Regions from separate parts of the Homo sapiens genome. Here region 2 is linked to region 1. Evidence: promoter capture Hi-C in human tissues and cell types (Jung and others, 2019). All regions are on one chromosome and are shown on one strand. The core of a region is centred on a gene start or on the middle of the fragment in contact, and the rest is flanking DNA. Distances in the headings are between cores, read along the strand shown. Region 1 holds the start of CLYBL (citramalyl-CoA lyase). Region 2 overlaps NALCN (sodium leak channel, non-selective).

Region 1 (3,809 bases), core at 185-2,684:
CTCCAGCCTGGGCGACAAAAGCGAAACTCCATCTCGGAAAAAAAAAAAAAAAAAAAAAAAAAGAAGTTCCAGACCACCAGGCCGGCCATGGTGGCTCACGCCTGTAATCCCAGCACTTTGGGAGGCTGATCCGGGTGGACCCCCTTGAGGTCAGGAGTTCGAGAACAGCCTGGCCAACATGGCGAAACTCTGTCTCTACTAAAAATACAAAAATTAGCCAGGGGTGGTGGTGCACACCTGTAATGCCAGCCACTCAGGAGGCTGAGGCATGAGAATCGCTTGAACCCAGGAGGTGGAGGTTGCAGTAAGCCGAGATTACACCACTGTACTACAGCCTAGGTGACAGACCGAGACTCTGTCTCAAAAAATAAAAATAAATAAATAAAGAAGTTCCAGACCAGGAGCCATACACTTAGTGTTTGAACCAAACTCTCTCATTACTGGTCATAGGGCTTTGAGAATCCTTAACCTTTCTGACCCTGTTTTTTCATCTTTATAAACATGACACCCAACTTCTTCACATGGTGGTCAAGGGAACCAAATGAGACCATGTATGTGCACGTACCTAGGCGATGGGCAAGTGCTAGACCAGCGGTTCTCAAAGTGTGGTCCAAAGACACCTGAGGGGGTCCCTGAGACCCGTTGAGAGGGTCTGCTTGGTCCTCCCTTTCCCAACTAATATCTGCATCTGCATGAGCCCAGAATTTCTTTCAAATATTTCCTTCAAAACAGCTGATATGAGACTCCAGCTGTCCTTTATTAAACCAAAGAAATTTTCAAAAATATAAAAACCATGAGCCAATCTTCTCACTTTTTTTTTGAGAAGTTATGCATTAAAGTGTTATTTGTATTAAAAGTTAATGGGTTTGTTATTAAGTGAATATTTTTTAAATTTCTGGTTTAATTCCTCATGCACAAAAATCAATAGATATAAGCAAAAGCTTTGGGGGGTCCTCAAATTATTTTTAGACGTGTAAACGGGTCCTGAGACCAAACCGTTTGGGAACCGCTGTGTTAAACGAACCGCAGGTGTTCTTCACCAGGCAAGCCGCCTCTCAAAGACTGGCGCGTTCACGTTTGCCATTTGGGGGAGGCAGGCAGTTTTGTTTCCTGGGGCTGAGTCCAGGTAATTCGACCTAAGGTGTGTACCCATTTTCCGGGTGCAACGAGGGCCCTCCCAAAGGGAGGCGCGGGCGGCAGCGACCTTGGACGAGGTCGAGCCAGCGCGTGGGAGGCGCATGGTGCTTCCGTCCGGCTGGGTTCCCGTGAGGGCTTGGGGAGGCCGCGCCCGGCCCGCGGGGCTGCAACAGGAGCCGACCCGCGGCGAGCCGGGCCGGGAAGGCGGGGAACGGGGACCTGCACTCACAGCCTCAGCAGCGCCGCCGCCGCAGCTCCGCGCGCCGCCCTCCGCAGCAGACGTAGCGCCATCTTCCCGACGCGCGCGCCCCGCCCTTTGCCTTTAGCCACGCCCACCCCACATTCCACGCCCCCACGGCGACACCGACCCCCCCCCCGTCCCAGGCCCCGCCTCGCTCTGTCTTCGCCCCGCCCCGTCCCGCCAGCCACACCCCGCCAGCCACGCCCTCCTTCCTCCCAGCACCCGCTCCGCCCCGCGGCGAGTCCCGAGGTCAACTGCCCTCCCGGCCAGGGCTTAGGACCTTCGTCCCCGCTGTCATGGGGGACAGAGCAGAGGATCTGAATGGTTGGGGCCTCTTTGAGGGGCCTCTCTGGTGACCGAATCCAACTCTCTGAGCTTCTGAGTTTTTGAGGCAACTGTTGACAGACTGCGTTTTCCCAGCCAGAAGAGCCAACATTTCTAGGGATTTCTTCGCAGCTTTTGTTGTTAAAATACCGCCTAATACTTTGTGAGCCCCATCATGTGCATATCTTGGTTAGCAATTAATCTAGAGTGGTCAAAGTGCAGGAAGGCTGCATCCTGGAACACACATGCCTGCAATAGGTCAGAGCAGCTGTTGGCACTCTCTGGGCAGGGAAACTGACAGCAGCTCTTTACTCTGCCCCCTGCAGCCGTTCTGCAGCGGTGAGAACGCCGAGGCGTTAAAACAGGCTGGGCCCTGCCCCTGCCTCTTCTTTCACCTTCCCTGATCCAGCCGGCCTCCACCTGCCGACCTTCACCTACCCGGGCCCATGTTACCCCTTAACCATGTCTTTTCCTTGGCACTCGGCATGTTTCTTTTTCAGCTGTGACTCCGTTCCATTCATGCTCTAGACTTAAACCTGAAACCGTTTCTCAGAACCTTCCAGTGGAAGCTGACTTGTGCTCTTGGATGCAAAAAGTGGCCGTTTAAACAAACAAAAGCCTTTTCAGCCAGAGGGGGTTCCAAGATTTGGAAAAGTCCAGGTGACTGGGAACATGGATGCTAAACTTCTGCTGAGCCTAAGAATTATTGTTATATTCGATACCAACAGGGGAGACTGCTCAACCCCTTGGTGCCCTCCCCCAGCTCCCACGCCTGCTCCACCTCAGGCCTCGCCTGTCTACTCCAATTTGGTCACTTTCTTGTCACCACCTTAGTCCCAGCCAGTGCCCGGTCCAGCCATACTGAAGCCTGAGGCAAAGGCAATTTCAGTAACACCAATCCTGTCTTTAATTAAAATTTTGATATTTTGTTCATAATGGGATTTTTCCATTATCTTGGTTTTTAGTTTAGAATATTACTTTTTTTTTTTTTTTGAGACAGTCTTGCTCTGTCGCCCAGGCTGTAGTGCAGTGGCACGATCTCAGCTCACACACTGTAACCTCCACCTCCTAGGCTTGAGTGATTCTCACCCCTCAGCCTCCTGAGTAGCTGGGACTACAGGCAAGTGCCACCACTTCCAACTAATTGTTTTGTATTTTTAGTAGAGATAGGGTTTCACCATGTTGGCTAGGCTGGTCTCGAACTCGTGGCCTCAAGTGATCCATCCGCGTCAGCCTCCCAAAGTGCTGGGCTTACAGGCATGAGCCACCATGCCAGGCCAATATTACTTATCTTTTTTTTTTTTTTTTTTTCTGAGATGGAGTCTCGCTCTGTCGCCCAGGCTGGAGTGCAGTAATTACTGAGACTTCTCCTTAAATTTTGCATCCCAGGCTGGGGCTGCACTCACCTCACTCAAGTCTGATTCTGGACATCATCATCCTTTACCTGGATTATTTCAAAGCCTCCTTGCTCCCATTCTTCCCTCCTACAATCACCCGTTTGCCATAAAACCTGGCTGACCTTTTAAAAGCATGACGCAGCTCCTAGTTCCAGAGTTGACTTGCTGTGTGACTTTGGTCAAGTTTCTTAAGCTCTCTGTTTCCTCATCTATAAAATGGGGGTATAAATACCTCATCACCTCATAGGCTTGTTATAATGATAGACTGAGTTTACATATACATAGAGAGAGACTGCACACTTAAAATCTAAGCAAGTTCTCAGTAGTGTTAACTATTCCTCATTATTATTGTCATTGCATCGCTTCCCTTCTTAAAACCCTTTAGTGGCTTTAGAATAAAATCCGAGTTCTTCCCCATGACCCTTAAAGCCTCACACGGTCTGGCCCCTGCCAGCCTCTCCAATTTATCTCCAGCCCCACTCATCTTCTGTCTGTGTTTTCTAAGTCCACGAGGCTCTCTCCCACCGTGGGGCCTTCACACATGCCGTTCCTCATCCCCAGAATGCTCATGGCTACACCTGCTCATCCTCCAGGACCTTCAGCCTACGTGCCACCTCCTCACAGGGGCCTGTGCTAATAACCTAAAGATCCCCAACGGCGCCCCCACATCTATTTCACTGTCACAGTGCCTGGTCATCTCCACCACAATG
Region 2 (3,553 bases), core at 50-2,549, 1.5 Mb before region 1:
TGAATATCTAGTAAAGAAATAAAGGCTTAAATTAATCCTCCAAGCATTCATTTCAAGAATTTAGAAAAATTATCAACCAAGGAAACACTAAGATAGCAGAAAGAAAGAAATAATAAAGAGAAAAGCAGTTATTAATCAAATGGGGGGAAAGAGGTGATAAATAATATCAACATAATTGAAATTTTGTTCTTTGGAAGCAGTAATAAAATTGATAAATCTACTTTAAAATTCAACAAGAAAAAATTAAGGAGCCTTCTTCTATAAAGATGACAGAGGCATTGACATTGTTTTTTAACCTTGAATTCCCACATGAAAACAAAAAGAATACCAAGATATCAAAACCCCAAATCCATAGTTAATATTTACCATAAAACTCGGTAATCCACAAACCCTAAATAAAAGCAAGTGTTGACAAACAGCCACATGATTTGCATGATATTAGTGTCTGTGGGAGGAAACCAAGCTTAGTTACAGAGCGTCCAATGTTCATGGAATGGTAGAACATCTTCTTTGCTCCATTCTGAAATAAAAAGTCCAGGAGTGGAATCAAAATTGAACAGGCCAGGAACAAGAGTGATAAGGATAAAAGCAGATCCAGACAAAATTTGTGGGGGGAGGAGGATTGGGAAACAGAGCTTGGAAATTCCAGAAAGAAAGCTACCATATTTGATCGATATATTAAAACAACAGAAGAGGAAACTCTGAAGTTAGAAGAGAAATACTAAACTGTTTGGGAAAACTAATTTTGTATAAAAATGAGTAAGGAAAATTATCAAAGCCAAATTCCCTGCAAACGTTATTATAAGAAAAAAACAGCAGAATACTGTCTCTCACTGTAGACAAGGAAAGCAACCTACAAAAACGTGCTCTAACCAGCTCAAACTGTAGCATACTATTGAAAAATTAGTTAAAAGACATTAAAAATTACATAAGGATGAAATAGCAACATAAATAAAAGTTAGAAAAACTCAGAAATGAGGTGCCAGAACTGAGAAAAGTTATAAATTAAAGCAATGAAAACTAAACGAGAAGGAACATAAAGAGACCTCAGATGATTCAAAAGTGAGAAATAGAAAATGGAGAAGAGGGCATTTTTTAAAATCAAAGAGAAATGAAGAAAGAGATGAAAATGATTTGCAAGAAAAATGACAAATTGAAGAAAGTCAAAAATCCGACATCTGCATTATAGGTGTCCCTAAGGAAGAAAAACCACAGCAAGAGAATAAAACGTATACTAAACTTTTCTGAAACATAAAAAGATATGAAACTATATATTGACAGCACACACCTAAAAATATTGGAGTAAATGATTAAAAACAATACATACACCAGACAAATGACAGGTCTTTAAATTTTTTAAAAATATATTATCTAGCCCAAATAAGAACAAGTGATTTATAAAGGAAAGAACGTTAGATTATCATGAGATTTTTCAGCAGCAATGCTTTATGTCAGAAGAAAATAGAGTAACATATATAGGATGCCCAGGCAAAGAATATCTGAGCCAGATTTTTTTCCATCCTGAAAACTGACTTTCAACTTTCAAGGTCAGAGAAACTGCTTTCAAGATCTAAGAATATGAGTAATGTAAGATACAAGTAATCTTGTTTCAATGAACCTGTAATCTACTAAAAAACATGCCTCAGATAACCTAAATGAACTCCAAAAGGGACTCTTAAACCATTTGGCATAAAAATTCACATTCATATGTAACAACTAACTACATAAGGACAACATGAAGAGTGAAATATGTAATAATTATTTGTTCTAATATGGATAGAGTACAGATATACAAATGAGGAGGTGAACGGGAAGAAGATATGCAAACCCTTAAGATATTCAGTAGTTTTCTTGGTTGTGTATTTTCATTCTGAGACTATTGTCTATGAAATGTGAAATAAAACTGAGTCACTGTTGAGACAATCTAATTCTGGCATCCCTGGTGCTCTTGATAATCAAGAGTGCTCTTTGTGGAGAAAAAAGGAGATATAGATATCATATAGAAAAGCTTAGGTAAAAATAAAAATCCTAAAGAAAACGTGGCACGTATACACCATGGAATACTATGCAGCCATATAAAAGAATGAGCTCATGTCCTTTGCAGGGACACGGATGAAGCTGGAAACCATCATTCTCAGCAAACTAACACAGGAACAGAAAACCAAACACAGCATGTTCTCAGTCATAAGTAGGAATTGAACAATGAGAACATATGGGCACAGGGAGGGGAACATCACACACTGGGTGCTATCGGGGTGGGGGGCAAGGGGAGGGATAGCATTAGGAGAAATACCTAATGTAGATGACGGGTTGATGGGTGCAGCCAACCACTGTGGGACATGCATACCTACGTAACAAACCTGCACGTTCTGCTCATGTACCCCAGAACTTAAAGTATAACTAAAAAAAAAAAAAAAAAATCCTGGGTCATGAATTTAAATTGAAAACATCAGAATAAACCCAGGCAAAATATTTGAAACAGTGACCAACTCCATAGCAGTGAGCATCTATGGGCTCTAGATATGTTCTTGAAACACCATTTTTCCAATTTTCCAATAAGTAAACCAGGGCTTCTTGAAGAAAATGGTTGATTTTGAATAGGAAGTGTACAAGCTGACCTTGGAGCATCTTGTCATACTAGGAACAAGGAAGCTTTGTCAAAGACTACGAGGGTCATATAAAAAGAACCTACAGACTGACCAACTTGAAAAACTCCCAATGAGCACAGTAGAGATAATTTGACTAACAGTAAGAAATGGTAATTGACATGGACTGAAATCCATTAAACATTAAATAAGTTTAAATCTTGAGTTCATAATGACATTTTTTAAATAGTAATTGGTTACCTTGAGCGATGATAGAAAATCAACCATGTAAAATTAATAAGTAAAAGTCGATAATCAAGCATTTATCTTGGCTTTTCCATACCAGTTTTGCTACTGGGTAACCAAATAATACAGGAGGGAAAGCACCTCATTATAAAACTATCCCAACTAATAAATGAAAAAGAAATGACAGTTTTGCAAACGGAATGAAGTCAAGGGATCTAAGAAATGAACATCAAGACCCGTAACATCACAAAAAGAAACACACACACTCTGTTCCTTTCGATGGAAGAATCTGACACCACCTATGGCCTTGCCAAAGGGATGAAACCAGAGTCTGTATGATGAAACCTCTGGATCCAGCTGCCGATTTTCAGAAAATAGAAGACAGAAGAACGTGTTGAACTGTACCAAGAGTGTGCTTTCAGCAAAATCCAGACTCTCTCTTGGCTGGGTGCGGTGGCTTACTCCTACAATCCCAGCATATTGGGAGGCCACGGCAGGAGGATCACTTGAGCCCAGGCATTTCAAGACCAGCCTGTGCAACATGAAGAAACCCCATCTCTTAAAAAAAAAAAAATGTTACTTAGCTATATGTGATGGCACACGCCTGTAGTCCCAGCTACTCAGAAGGCTGAGACAGGAGGATCGATTCAGCCCAGGAGGTCAAGACTGCAGTGAGTCATGATAATTCCACTGCATGCACTCCAGCCTGGGTGACAGAACGA

Evidence for each region. Contacts are between HindIII fragments. The study calls those that stand out against the background at their distance.
Region 2: a contact is called between a fragment that was not itself captured here and the fragment with the promoter of CLYBL in region 1, in 1 of the 25 tissues and cell types used here (dorsolateral prefrontal cortex).

The regions. Positions count from the first base shown.
Region 1 is chr13:99,604,315-99,608,123 of GRCh38, reverse strand. It overlaps CLYBL (citramalyl-CoA lyase), which reads right to left and starts at 1,434. Exons shown (of 9, transcript NM_206808.5): 1 at 1,367-1,434. The coding sequence starts at 1,428. LOC105370332 (a long non-coding RNA gene) reads left to right here and starts at 2,275. Exons shown (of 3, transcript XR_931674.3): 1 at 2,275-2,362. RefSeq lists a silencer at 1,094-1,653 and enhancers at 1,375-1,669, 1,592-2,571. The HindIII fragment of the contact is 17,148 bases long and covers 1-3,809 here.
Region 2 is chr13:101,128,583-101,132,135 of GRCh38, reverse strand. All of the region lies in intron 17 of NALCN (sodium leak channel, non-selective), which reads left to right. Among named protein-coding and RNA genes, the nearest start is that of LINC00411, 190 kb to the right of the region's middle. The HindIII fragment of the contact is 3,814 bases long and covers 1-3,206 here.